Regions from separate parts of the Homo sapiens genome. Here regions 1, 2, 3 and 4 are each linked to region 5. The links are contacts of gene promoters, found by promoter capture Hi-C in blood cells and fetal thymus (Javierre and others, 2016). All regions are on one chromosome and are shown on one strand. Each heading gives the region's core, a stretch centred on a gene start or on the middle of the fragment in contact. The rest is flanking DNA. Distances are from core to core; before and after follow the strand shown.

Region 1 (2,700 bases), core at 148-2,647, 450 kb before region 5:
AAGGTTGGCAAACACAATTTCAGATAGATGATCAAGGTTAACCTCCTGATAAATCACACTGATGGCATGCATCCCTGATACGCCATAATGTGCCATGGTCTTTTTCCCCAAATCCTGTAACTCCAGTCTAACCGTGAGAAAAATACCAGATAAACCCAAATTGCAAGGTATTCTATGCAAACTCATAGAATGTCAAGGTCATCAAAACTGTCAAGGTCATCAAAATAAGGAAAGGGTGAGAAATTGTCGCAGCCTAGAGAAGCCTAAGGAGACATGACTAAATGTCGTGTAGTGTTCTGGATGGGATCCTGGAATAGGAAAAGGGCATTAGGGAGAAAAAACAATGAAATTAGAATAAAGTGTGCAGTTGAGTTAATTTAAAAAAAAGTTAATTAAAAGACATGAAAGAAGAGCTAAATAAATGGAGACGTATTTAATCCTAGGAAGACTTATTTGGTAAAAATGTCAATTTTTAAAATATTCTATGCAGTAAATACAATTTAGATCAAAACCCGCAAAGTAGTATGTACTAAAATTCAGCAAGCTGATTCCAAAGTTTACGTGGAAGAGCAAAGGACCAAGAAGAGCCAAGAAAACTCTGCAGGAAAAAAAAAAAAAGCAGGACAACTTTCCCTACCTGACATTCAAGATTTATTATAAAGCCATAGTAATCAATGCATGGAGGTTTTCGTGCTGGAAAGGACAATCAGGGGAAAGGAATGAAGAGCCTGGAGAAGATTTGCACACATAACAGGGATGATGAGACACATTGCTGGCAGGGACTTCTCAACAAATAATGCTCCTGCCCTACGTGAAAGTCAACTCTAGGTGAATTACATACCTTAGTAAGAAAAAAACTTTAAAACTTTTATAAGACACCATAAGAGAGTATATTTATAACCTTACTGACACAAAAGACCTAAATTGTAAAGGAAAAGATGGTATATTTAACACACTAAAATTAAAAAGAAAATCTCTTCAACAACATATTCCATAAAAACAAATGAAAAGACAAAGAATACCCAAGGGGAAGATGTTTGGAAATACATGTAACCAGTCCAGAATATATACAACTGATACGGGTAGGAGATGGGAATAGTGGATAGAAGAGGGTGGTTCCCTGGCAAAGACCCCACCCTCAAGCCGGGAGATCTGCAGCGCTAAGTGGAAACAGGCATTTCTGTTTTCGTGCCCAAAAAGTTGCCTTTTGGCCTGCCATGCTCCCCTATCCTGTGCCCATGTAAACTCTGAACCCCAGGCTCCAGAAGCAGACGAGCAGGTGAGATGAGGACACAAGCAGACAAATGGCAGAACGACACAGTAGAGAAAAGAGGAGGAATGTCTGAACGCCGAGAGGAGTTTGGCTGGGAGCAGCCAGAGGGGAGTTGGGCCACTGGATGGCCAGGCTCCAGGGGAAGATCATCTTTCCCCTCCATTCCCCCTTCCAGCTCCCCATCCATCCCACTGAAAGCCACCTCCACCACTCAGTAAAACCCCACATTCATCCTTTAGTCCTGTGTGTGACCTGATTCTTCCGGGGATGCTGGGCAAGAGCTCGGGATACAAAAAGCTGTCACTTCCCTCTGCCCTTGTGAAAAGGCAGATGTCCGTCAAGCTGGTTAACAATCAAGTCGTCCGCAGATGGCAGGGCTAAAAGGACACGCTGTAACACGTGCCCAACTGGGCTCCTGCACTTGTCCGTCTGCGTTCTCCCCCTCCCCTCAGGGGTTTGAGCAGTGGTGGTGACTAAACAGGCAAGCCACACCCCTGTCGCATGTCCTGCGAGGGGGATCAGAGAACTCCCCTGTTTCACAATCAAATCAACCAGGCATGGTGGTGTGTGCCTGTAGTCTTTGCTACTCAGGAGGCTGAAGCAGGAGGATCGCTTGAGCCCAGGGGTTCAAATCGAGCCTGGACAACATAGCAAGACCATCTCTTAAAAAAAAAAGAATTTTTTAAAAAAGAAATTATATTAACTAATAAGAAAGAGACAATGACCCAATAGAAAATTGGCCAAGGATAGGAGTAGGCTCTTCGTAGAAATCCAAATGGGTGCAAATCAATAAGAAGATGCTCAATTCCAATCAAATTCAGCGAAATGCAAATTAAAACAATGAGATACCATTCCCATCCATTACATTGACAACAATTAAAAAGTTTAACCCAGCAAGTGATGATAAGAATGTAGAAGAATGGGAACTTCCTCTTGTACTCTTTTGTAGGAGTAAAAATTGGTACAGCCATATCCTGAAGGATATGTAACATGTGCACAAGGAAATATGTACATACAGGTATTCAATTCAGCATTTATTTACTTTAGAAAAAACTGAAAAACCACCTGGCTATCAATAAGAGAATGGATTAACTATGGTATATATAATGGTTTAAATGAATCAACTGGAACCATGTGTATCAAGAACACATCTCTAAAGCATCTTAAGAGAAAAAAGTAGGTTGCAAATGAATGCACATTTTATACAACTATTTTAAAAAATTGTTTAAATATTACATACACAAATATTCTGGTAGATTGCAAGAATGGTTACAAATTCCTTTCTTCCCATCAAGAGTGGAGCCTATTTCTCTGCCACTTGAATCTGGGTTGGCCATGTGTGTTGCTTTGGCCAAAAGGATGTTTGCAAACATGACACAAGCAGAGGCTTGAAAAGTGCATTTGAATTAGGGCTTGCACTCATACCA
Region 2 (2,700 bases), core at 22-2,521, 430 kb before region 5:
CCTAGAACTGGAGACGCCTGAACAAAAATGTCAAATGCACATTGTGTTCCTATGCCTGTCTCCTGCACTGGGAGCAGGAGGAGGTGAGGAGAAAATAATGAAGCAGCCAAGCCCAATGACACCCAGTGTCTTTCTCATAATCACCTTTACCCCAACCACTCTTCAAGGTCTTGTTTCTTTTTTCCAGTCTAGAGAGTGTTATAAGAAGATCTTAGAAATAAACCCCAAGCTGCAAACCCAGGTGAAAGGTGAGCACGTTCCTGCTGAGGTCCTTCATCTGAACTCCACCTCCCTCTGCCCCCTGCCTTAGAATGCCTTCCGTGCTTTCACTGCCCTTGGCCACTAGGCAGCGGCGGATCCTCTTTCCTGCACAGTTGGGTCCTCTGTGTTAACCAGCCCACTCTGCTCCTCTGTTTGCTGTGCTCCCTTGCAAATAGTAATATTTTCCTTCTTCATTTTCTACACCATCCTCCCTTAGACACTTTTAGACTCCCTTGAATCCCCAACAAGGTTTAAGATTCTGGTTGTAGATTTAGACTGTTTCTAAAATTTTCCTTGCTAACGAAGAGTTTTAATTATTTTAATGCTTTATGCTTCTCAAACTCCCATCCTCAAAAGAAAGGAAAAAAAAAGGTTGCTTCTTGTGTGGTATTGTTGATTGTTAGGGTTTTGTTTTGCTTTCCTTTCTTGTTTTTCTAGGTTACCTGAATCAAGTAGATCTTCAGGAAAAAGCAGACCTTCAAGAAAAGGAAGCCCACGAACTGCTGGATTCAGGAAAGAACACAGCCGTGACCACCAAGAACCTCCTGGAGACCCTTTCCAAGCCTGACCAGATCCCCTTGTTCTATGCTGGGGGGATTGAGATCCTGACTGAAATGATAAATGAGTGTAAGCCAGAGATGTGTGTGATCTCATGAGTGCTGTCAGTGTGAAGGGACACATTCAGAGGTCTGCCTTTACCAGGCCAAGAATCCCTCCCTTCCTTCCACAAATATTGATTAAAGATATACGCTAATGTAGCTGCTAAAAGGGGTGCACAAGAAATGTCCTCCGACTTCTGCTCCATCCTCTCTACAGAGCATGCGTACACTCAGCACACATGCAATAAACATACACAACACAACACGTACACGTGGCACACACTCGATATATACTTACATACACCACACATGCACTCAGCTTTCACTCACTTGAATATATCCTTGTATTACACACACACCACATACCACACACAGCACACTCACACCATAAGTACTCATGTCAGTCCACATATCCTGCGCACACTCCACCCTCACATTTTCACCACACACCCCATGCACATCCTGCGTGTACTCCACACATACCCCCACAGACACCTCAAGCATCCCATACCACCTCGTACACCTTCCCTCCACTGTGGAGGAATGGAAGACAGAATTTTGTAGGTTAAACTGTAAGGTTCACCCAGTTACAGTTAATGGCTGCATAGGATGTGAAAATGGTTTCAGAGCAAACATCAGCTCTCCTACTAATGAGGGCCATACTGTTCTCTTTTACTAGCTCTTGTAAACATTGTTACCAAGGCTTAAATAATCTCTATACTCAGTGACAGCATGTTGTTTGTACAAATAGATGGAGTGTCTGACTTCTCTTTAGTGTACAATGGAGGGCACACAAATATCCCCTTCAGCAGTTTCTTGGAGATTATAAATTCCTCTCTGGAGCTTGGAAATAGCTTTGAAATAAATATTTAAGAACAGATGGATATGCTGGTACTTCCCATAGGTTAAGCAGCTCTGGGAGGCTCTCTGAAGATTACAGAATGATGAGCTGTGCAGATAGCCCTCGGGGCCACCCCAGCTCTGCTCTCCTTCTCTAAACAGTCCCTCCGCCTGAGAGGCACTGAGGCCTCTGACGCTGAGAGGCTGCTGACCATTGTATGTTTCAAAATGTAAAGTTCATTTGTTCCTGCCAAACCATTCACGTGGGTACCGTGGCATTCCATATTAGGTTTCTCATTAGCAGGTGGCTGTGTTGCAGCGAGACACCAGCCAGCCAGTTTGGGAGTCTGAAGTGGTTTTCTTTGTATCTGTTTCAGGCACAGAACAAACTTTATTCAGAATGCACAATGGATTTAGTATCATCAGTGACAACGAGGTCATAAGAAGGTAGGGATGTTCATAGAGACAGCCCAGCAGCAAAGCAAGGGAAGATAACCACTGCTTATGAAATCAGACACGAGGCACATAGACAGTCACGTTTCTGAACATTACCCCCCTTCAGTCAGTAGTGGGGGGCTCTCCAGGAGTGCAAAGCTACTCCACGAACATCTTTGAGTGCTTTCCCTCAAGACATTGGAGTTACACTGCAGCTAACAATTGAGGCTGGGCGCGGTGGCTCATGCCAGTAATCCCAGCATTTTGGGAGGTCAAGGCGGGCGGATCACTTGAGGTCAGGAGTTTGAGACCAGCCTGGCCAACATGGTGAAACCCCGACTCCACTAAAAATACAAAAATTAGCTGGGCATGGTGGCAGGCACCTGTAATCCCAGCTGCTCAGGAGGCTGAGGCACGAGAATCGCTTGAATCTGAGAGGCGGAGGTTGCAGTGAGCCGAGATCACGCCACTGTACTCCAGCCTAGGCGATACAACCAGATTCAGTCTCAAAAAAAGGAAACAATTGAAGAGAGAGGAACAGCAGCACTTCCCAGGGCTCCTCTAA
Region 3 (2,700 bases), core at 194-2,693, 500 kb after region 5:
GAACAGGTAATTTACAGTGGTCAATTGGCAGTTGAAGTGACAAAGCTTGTTCTCTACTAGTTGCTGCCACACCCCTCAGTGCCTTCCTGCTCCTAACACTCCCCTCCTACCCCTGCTCAGTGCTGGGGACTGTGCTCAGTCATGTCTAAGGCTGTTAGTGCAGATAAAATTCCAAATCTTAGAGTCTGCATTCCCAAGTGGTTGACTCTCTACACCCCAAACAAACGTGTCTCTCTAAGAAGTCTAGAGAAAGTAGAACCTTTTGGGAAAGGTGGACCTCAGAGCCATGCTTCGATACTGACGATTTAGAAATATTCTTGTTCTAAAACAGGTGGGCTGATAGGAAAGTGACTAATTGGCATTGGCCCTGAGGCCACCATTATCAGCTCCTCTCTGCCTGTGAGTCTTTCTAGGAGACCATTGCCTCCAACTACATGGACAAGAATGTCCTGGAGCTGAACAGGTAGCAGAGACAGAGGCTGCAGTCATTTGACTGGTCTCCAGTGGTAAAATATGTATGTGAGCTTGAAGGGATTAGGCAAGGAGTTCGGTGTTTGTTTTTGCACCTTGAGGATGCCAGAGCTTCACGTGGCTCTCTGAACTAAGAATTTTCTGTGGGGCTCATGTAGAAATGGCAAGAAAGATGGAGACTAAGAAAGAAGGATGTCAGTGGAACTGCAGGAAGAAGAAAGGAAGAGTGAGTTCTATAAAGCCCCAAGGAGGGAACCAAAGTAGATGGCTAGAGACAAGCCTGGAGCCAGAAAGAAACTGTCCCAGATGCCAAGATCTGAGCCCAAGCATATGCATAACAGGCAGGATGACAGTCAGCTGGCTTTTGATGGCAGGCAACCGTTCTGACTGGTCAGTGTTCCTGTTGTTCCAATTGCAACCTCCAGACTTTTGACCCTAAACCTGTGGAAGCTTTCTGTGGGTCTCCTGAGGTGACCTCTCACTGCTGGGAACAGGGAAACACAGAGAAGGCCATCGCTGGGATTGGAGTTGGGAATGGAATTAAGACCAATCTAACTTTGAGGCAGAATAGAATTTACTTACCTTGCGTAATTTCAGGCACCAGGAAAGTTCTCCATAGCATCTTCACTCCCAAAATACCCCACATCCTAGTTAAGTAAGAAGGTTGAAGTTGTTCATTAGGTCCTTCTTCATTTTGCTTAAGACAATAACATTTGTAATACACTATTGAAGAGCTGTAAAGAGTAACCCTTTAAGTGCTAGTCCTTATTCATACCTCAGTATGAATGAGCCTCATAGCCTATACTAGGTATTTAAGAAGAGAATGTGACAACTGAGTGGAGTGTGTAGCCAGGAGCCACTGGAAGGGAAAGATGATGGAGGTACTGGATGTCCTCAACAACATCTACCAAGCTCACTTTGTATTAATAGTTTTGCTCTGCTGGTTCCAGGCAGACTTTCCATTTCCCTTTGCACTTGGCTGACTTGTTTTAAGTCATGGACCAGGCAGAGAAAGAATGGGCTGATTGTCAGAAGCACATTGCAGAGACAGCCGGCAAGTGGAAAGAGCACTGACTGCAGGGTTGGCGGTCCCTAGGCTTGCCCGTGCCAATAGCTGATGTCATGACTGCATCTCCAGGACTCAGTGTCTTCATCTGTAAAAGGAGTGACCTGATTCTGATATTCTGAGATTCTGTGAGTGTGTGTATGGCTTGGGGTTAGGGTTATGGTTAGGTTTTGTGTTAGAATATTCTGATATCTTGCGAGTGTGTGTATGGGTTTAGGGTTAGGGTTAGAATATTCTGATATCTTGTGAGTGTATAGGGGTTATGGTTATGGTTAGGGTTAGGATTTGAATATTCTGATATCCTGTGAGTTGTGTATATGTTAGGGGTAGGGTTACAGTTAAGATTAGGGTTAGAATATTCTGTTATCCTGCAAGTGTGTGTATGAGATGCAGAAAATGACCAGGAGTGATCTATATGTCCCATGAGGTAAGCTTGACCCAGCTGGCCACTCTTTCCATTTCCTTCTTTCCAGAGAGAAGTGGGCTGAAAAGGAGGAGTGTTTAAGGAAAGCGACTCAAATGTGCTTACATGTGACATTTGGAAAGAATGGCCTCTGAAACCTGCAGTCCTGCCCCTGGCCGACTGCCTCGTTTTCTCCCTGTGGTTTCAGGCTGCCCCCCCACCCACCCTGGGTACCTGCCAAGGCACCTTGTGCCAACTTGGGACCCTGCTTCAACCCAGGGACCGTATGCTGCAAGCAGAGGCTTTGAGACCAGTGTCTACATGGTGGGGGACAAGAGGTTCTCCACACTGCCCCTAGAGAGGAATTTCTGCAGGAGCCCCTGCAGGAGACAGGCTTGGATTTGGAGAAGTTGGAGAAGGCTCAGCAGGCAGCTGAGAGCCACTTCCACGACTGCCCAGTTGACCCAGAGATGTTCTCTGTGGCCCGGCGAAGGGACTGATGCAGCAGACTTGGTAGGAGCTAGGAGTGCACAGGGGCAGGATTTCCAGATGCCATCCTGCTACCTCATTTGCTTTCCTCTTCGTTTAGTCTGTTTTATTTAGAAACCTTACCAGCAAATGCTTTTAGAGTCTTATTATACATGATTGCCAGGTAAATAGGAATGTTGATCTCAAACAGAGAGGTTTATAATATGCTCCACTCATGGCCCAGGGAGGGAGAGAAAGAATTAGACCAGAGAAATAAAGCTGTGCTTCTTCT
Region 4 (2,700 bases), core at 41-2,540, 390 kb before region 5:
TTTTCCTGTTACTGGTTAAAAAGCGTTTTGACAGTCCCAGGGACACATTGCTTTCTTTCCAACCAAAACTGTAGAGACAAAGACACATTTCCACTGCAACTAAGTAATCCCGAAGTTTCTCCATAAGCCAAATTTGATTGAGCTAATACTGACCTTTCCACAGGCACAGCTTCCAAAGATATCTTTTTGCTGCAGGCAAAGTCCTGATGAGCATATTAGTCAAAGCTCCACCTCTTCAGTACCAGCACACCCACCCTCTCTTTTCTCTTCCTTTCAGGTTGAAGGAGAACAGGGAGTGTCTCTAAATTTCCACAGCTGATTTTTCTCCCCCCAGGAGGTCCTATTGTTCAGGCCTGGCCTGGGGAGCACGTGACACCCCACCCCACCGCCAGCAATGGATAAGCCTCAGGCTCAGAGTCCTGTATTTGATTTGATCAAGGCTATTCTGGCCATATGTTAAGAGCAATGTACCTTGGCAGGAAGCAAGCCAGGTTTAAGTCCTGGGCCACTGAATTGCCAACTGCGTGACCCAAGGCTCCTCTAAACCTGCAAAAATGGAAATAATAATAGTACCAAACTCAGAGGGTTGTCAAGAAAATTAAATGAGATAATGCAAGTTGAGCACTTGGGATGGAGTGTCTGGTTTGAAGCAAAGGCTGGCTAAATGACCATCTGATTATTGCTTTGGCCCCTGAAGCCTCGCCATCAATTTGTTCTCTCATTCATCAGAACAGCCCTTTGCTTGGAAAACCATACTTATAAAAATATGAAGCATCGTAAATGATCATAAGGAAACCGACCGGGGGAAGGTAGCAATGATGGGAATCTCTAAGGATCTCTCCCAGGAGAATCTGCCTAGGGGTTTTAGTGGCCTGACCCTGGGGAGGCAGGTTGGAGAAAACTGTAAAGGAAAAGCCTGGTCTGCTACAAAATGACTCAGAACCTACTCAGACTAGAGAAGTCTCTGAAAAAAGGCTAGAAATCAACCTTCACCCCGGGAGATTCACCTTCCTGTTCATTCATCCATTCATTCATTCATTCATTCATTCATTCATTCATTCATTCATTCATCAAATGTTAAATGAGCTCCCTCCTACATGGCCAAGTACTGAGGATAGAGCAGAGAACAAGATTCCTGTCCAGGAGCCCATATTCTATTGGTCTATTTAAGTTTCTTTGACTTTTAAGAATTGTATTCTTCACAACCACCTATACCACATAGTGAAACAAACAAACAAAATATTTTCTTCTTTTTCAACTTGTATTTTAGATTCAGTGGGTGCATGTGCAGGTTTGTTGCATGGGTATATTGTGTGATGCTGAGGTTTGGGGTATGAATGATCCTATCACCCAGGGAGCAAGCAAACAAGCATAGCACCCGACAGGTAGTTTTTCAACCCTTGCCCCCTCCCTTCTCCACCCCCAGTAGTTCCCAGTGTCTGTTATTCCCATCTTTCTGTCTATGTATACCTAAGGTTTGGCTTCCACTTACAAGTGAGAACATGTGGTATTTGGTTTTCTGTTTCTGTGTTAATTCACCACTTAGGATAATGGCCTCCAGCTGCATCTGTGTTGTTGCAAAGGACATGATTTCATTCTTTTTTATGGCTGCATAGTAGTCCATGGTGTATATGTACCACATTTTCTTTATCCAATCCACCATTGATGGGCTCCTAGGTTGATTCCATGTCTTTGCCATTGTGAACAGTGCTGTGATGAACATATGAATGCACATGTCTTTTTGGTAGCAAGATTTATTTTATGCCTAGTAATAGGATTGCTGGGTTGAATGTTAATTCTAAGTTTTTTGGGAAATATTCAGCTTGCTTTCACAGTGACTGAACTAATTTGCACTACCACAAACAGTGTATAAGTGTTCCCTTTTCTCCACAGCCTCACCAGCATTTGTTATTTTTTGTTTTTTTTTTAAATAATAGCCATTATTAAAATGGTTGCTGCAAAACAGTAACTCATTGTGATTTTGATTTGCATTTCTCTAATGATTACTGATGTTGAGCACTTTTTCATATATGTGTTGGCCGCAGGTATGTCCTCTTTTGAGATGTTCTGTTCATGTCCTTTGCCCACTTTTTATTTTTTATTTTATGTTTCCATAGGTTATTGGGGTACAGGTAGCATTTGGTTACATAAGTAAGTTCTTTGGTAGTGATTTGTGAGATTTTGGTGCACCCATCACCTGAGCAGTATATACTGCCCCCTATTTGTAATCTCTTATCCCTTGTCCTCCTCCCACCCTTCCCCCCAAGTCCCCAAAGTCCATGGTATGGTTCTTATGCCTTTGTGTCCTCATAGCTTAGCTCCCACATATCAGTGATAACAAACAACATTTAGTTTTCCATTACTGAGATACTTCACTTAGAATAGTAGTCTCCAATCTCATCCAGGTCCATGAAAATGCTGTTAATTCATTCCTTTTTATGGCTGAGTAGTATTCCATCATATATATGTATATCTCACAGTTTCCTTTTCCACTAGTTGATTGATAGGCATTTTGGTTGGTTCCACAATTTTGCAATTGAGAATTGTACTGCTGTAAATGTGTGTGCAAGTATCTTTTTCATATAATGACTTCTTTTCCTCTGGGTAGATACCTAGTAGTGGGATTGCTTGATCAAATGGTAGTTCTACTTTTAGTTCTTTAAGGAATCTCCACACTGTTTTCCATAGTGGCCATATAGT
Region 5 (2,700 bases), core at 102-2,601:
AAGCCATATTAAAGAAGAGATGTCAGGGATATGACTACTTAAAATTCAGGAAACTACTTTTGTAAAATCAAGAGCTGTTAGGAAGGGTTATACCTGTGCCCTTATGGTGTGTGGCAAACTTGCTCCCTCGAAACCCTACTTGACTCAGATACACAAAATTTTAAATGAAAGCAACTGAAGATGTGGACAAATACTGGCAAGGTAACAATATCAGTACAAAGCAAAACTGTGTGTGGCTACGTGCTTCCAGTTTTTGTATCAATCTCAAGGCAGCAACGTTTACGTAGGTACCAATGACACTCAGCACAGCTTCATGTGCTTGTAGATGAAGTTTTAAAACCACATTAAGAGGCCGGAGACGGTGGCTTACACCTGTAATCCCAGCACTTTGGGAGGCCGAGGCGGGTGGATCACCTGAGGTCAAGAGTTCGAGACCAGTCTGGCCAACATGGTGAAACTCCGTCTGTACTAAAAATACAAAAAAAAAAAAAAAAAAATTAGCCAGGCGTGGTGGCACGCGCCTGTAATCTCAGCTACTCGGGAGGCTGAGGCAGGAGAATCGCTTGAACCCGGGAGGCAGAGGTCGCGGTGAGCCGAGATCACTCCAGCCTGGGCGACAGAGCAAGACTCCATCTCAAAAGATAGATAGATACATAAAAATAAAAACATACTGAGGGTTTGGGTTTGTTTTTTTTTTAATGTCGGGGAGGAGAAAGGTGCAATCCTCCAGGCTATTTTATTCATCAACAAATCAAGGAGTGGGTGGAGGAAATAAACACTCATCGATGGAAGAAGGGGAAGGGGGATCCTGTCTTTTCTATTCCTCTCCTGCGCTCGCTCCCTAGCTTCCTCGGAGCTTCCAGTTGCTCCTCCCGCTCTGCTGGTCTCTTCAGTCTCCCTCTTCCCGCGGCACACCCCTCCCCAACATAACTCCACTCTCCAGTGCTCTCCAGCCACCGCCTGTTCGTCCCCACAGTCCCAGGTCTCCTCGCCTCCTCAGTTCCCAACCCCTGTGTGGGCTCCCCTCCAAGATCCCTCCTCAATCCACACATTCTGGGCCCCTCCACTCCTCATTCAGCCCCCACAACTAGATCTCCCCAACAGGCCCCACTCTGCTGGTCCCCACTCTGTCTGCCCTTAGCCCCTGACTCCTCTCTCCAGTCCCTTCACACAAGGACCCGGAGTCCCCTTCCAGTCAGCAGACAGCTGCCCCGCTCTCACCTTGATCTCCTCCACCCGCCGGGTCAGGCGGCTGATCCGGGTCCCCAGATCCTCCTTTTCCAGCCTCCCGGAGTGTGCCAAAACTTCTGTCACGAACGAGGCCATGGCCAAGACGGGAACCAACGCTGACTGGGTCACTCTCGTAGCCAGCGCCGCAGCTCCCGTCCCGCCGGCCGTCTTGACGCGAGGCCTGCCGGGAAACGGAGTCTCGCGGGCCTCAGACCGCCGCCCGGAAGGCGAGGGGCGCACTACAACTCCCAGCAGGCACCGCGCCAATCCCGAGATGGGATTTCCACGGTGTCCCGTAGTTGGCAAACTGTAAGCAGACGCGTTTTCTTCCTTAGTTGTTTTCAAAGTTCGTTGCTTCCCGCCCGTTTTTCACTGGAGGAAATTAAACGTTTTTAATAACCAGGTCTAACTGAACCTTTCTAAACTTCAAAAGGCTTACTTGTAAAATTATCTAACTGAAAGAGCCAACGAGCCCATCTCGATCTTTTTTCCTCAACTTTTATTGGGCCGCTGTGGCACCAGAATCTACGAATGGCGCCCTCTAGAGTTGTGTAAAGAAGTGGCGTCACCTCATTATAAATAAAAGGTTGCTTATAATTGCATCTATGTACATATATTACATCTACGTGATACATTACACATTTACATTACCTACATTACATATTTATATTACTTAGATATACATAATATTAGTCCTGTGTGAACAAGATACTTAGTACTTTCTGTCATATTATAAATATATAAATGTGTCAAAAGCTTTTAAAAATGGTTTCATTATTTTAATGCATTGCATACAGAAAGATGTTCACAATATTCTATGTATACTATGATTCCTTTTTAAAAACTTAAGTGTATAACCATTGGTCAGAAAACAAAAAGTATGTAAGTATGTATGTAAAGGACAGACATCAAATTATCCTATGGGTGGTGGATTTATGGTATTTATTCTCTTCTCTGCCCTTGCTTTCTCTATTTTTCTGCAGTAAACATACACAGTCCTCCCTTGGTATGGGGGGATTGGTTCCAGAAACCTCCCCTGCCCCAGTAGCAAAATCCGTGGATGCTCAAGTCTCTTACATAAAATGATGTAATGTTTACAAGTAACCAGCACACATCCTCCCCATACACTTTAAATCATCTCTTGATTACTTATAAGACCTAATACAAATCAATCTAAATGCTATAGAGTCGTTATATTGTATTTTGATTTGCATTATTTTTTGTTGTTGTATTGTTATTTTTTATTAGTTTTTTCCAGAATATTTTTGATCTGTGGTTGGTTGGATCCGTGGATACCAAGAGCCAGATGTACTGTTTTGATTAAAAGGTTTTTGGTTTTTTAAAAAGATATATTGTGAGGGTTGACCCCAAGTAGGCACTGACTCTAAGATCCCTGACAATTGTTAAGTGTCTTTGAGACAATCTGCTTATCCCAGTGAAGCAAGGGCCAATTCACATGCCATGAGCAAA

What was found. The method cuts DNA at HindIII sites, captures the fragments that hold promoters and counts their contacts. A CHiCAGO score of 5 or more calls a contact.
Region 1: a fragment that was not itself captured here is called in contact with the fragment with the promoter of ZW10 in region 5 in 6 of 17 cell types (total CD8 T cells, M2 macrophages, M0 macrophages and 3 more); the score reaches 8.6 in total CD8 T cells.
Region 2: a fragment that was not itself captured here is called in contact with the fragment with the promoter of ZW10 in region 5 in 3 of 17 cell types (M0 macrophages, M1 macrophages and M2 macrophages); the score reaches 6.0 in M0 macrophages.
Region 3: a contact is called between a fragment that was not itself captured here and the fragment with the promoter of ZW10 in region 5, in 1 of 17 cell types (total B cells). The highest score is 9.5, in total B cells.
Region 4: a contact is called between a fragment that was not itself captured here and the fragment with the promoter of ZW10 in region 5, in 1 of 17 cell types (total B cells). The highest score is 5.3, in total B cells.

The regions. Positions count from the first base shown.
Region 1 is chr11:113,319,074-113,321,773 of GRCh38, forward strand. All of the region lies in intron 2 of TTC12 (tetratricopeptide repeat domain 12), which reads left to right. Among named protein-coding and RNA genes, the nearest start is that of TTC12, 5.8 kb to the left of the region's middle. The HindIII fragment of the contact is 8,883 bases long and covers 1-2,700 here.
Region 2 is chr11:113,338,587-113,341,286 of GRCh38, forward strand. It overlaps TTC12 (tetratricopeptide repeat domain 12), which reads left to right. Exons shown (of 22, transcript NM_017868.4): 9 at 188-248; 10 at 700-888; 11 at 2,078-2,147. Among named protein-coding and RNA genes, the nearest start is that of TTC12, 25 kb to the left of the region's middle. The HindIII fragment of the contact is 4,416 bases long and covers 1-2,700 here.
Region 3 is chr11:114,273,956-114,276,655 of GRCh38, forward strand. It overlaps a transcript of NNMT not described here. Among named protein-coding and RNA genes, the nearest start is that of NNMT, 21 kb to the right of the region's middle. The HindIII fragment of the contact is 1,048 bases long and covers 920-1,967 here.
Region 4 is chr11:113,377,891-113,380,590 of GRCh38, forward strand. No RefSeq gene overlaps it. Among named protein-coding and RNA genes, the nearest start is that of ANKK1, 8.5 kb to the right of the region's middle. The HindIII fragment of the contact is 5,570 bases long and covers 1-2,700 here.
Region 5 is chr11:113,772,341-113,775,040 of GRCh38, forward strand. ZW10 (zw10 kinetochore protein) reads right to left here and starts at 1,352. Exons shown (of 16, transcript NM_004724.4): 1 at 1,222-1,352. The coding sequence starts at 1,326. RefSeq lists enhancers at 1,083-1,352, 1,483-1,542. The HindIII fragment of the contact is 9,750 bases long and covers 1-1,984 here.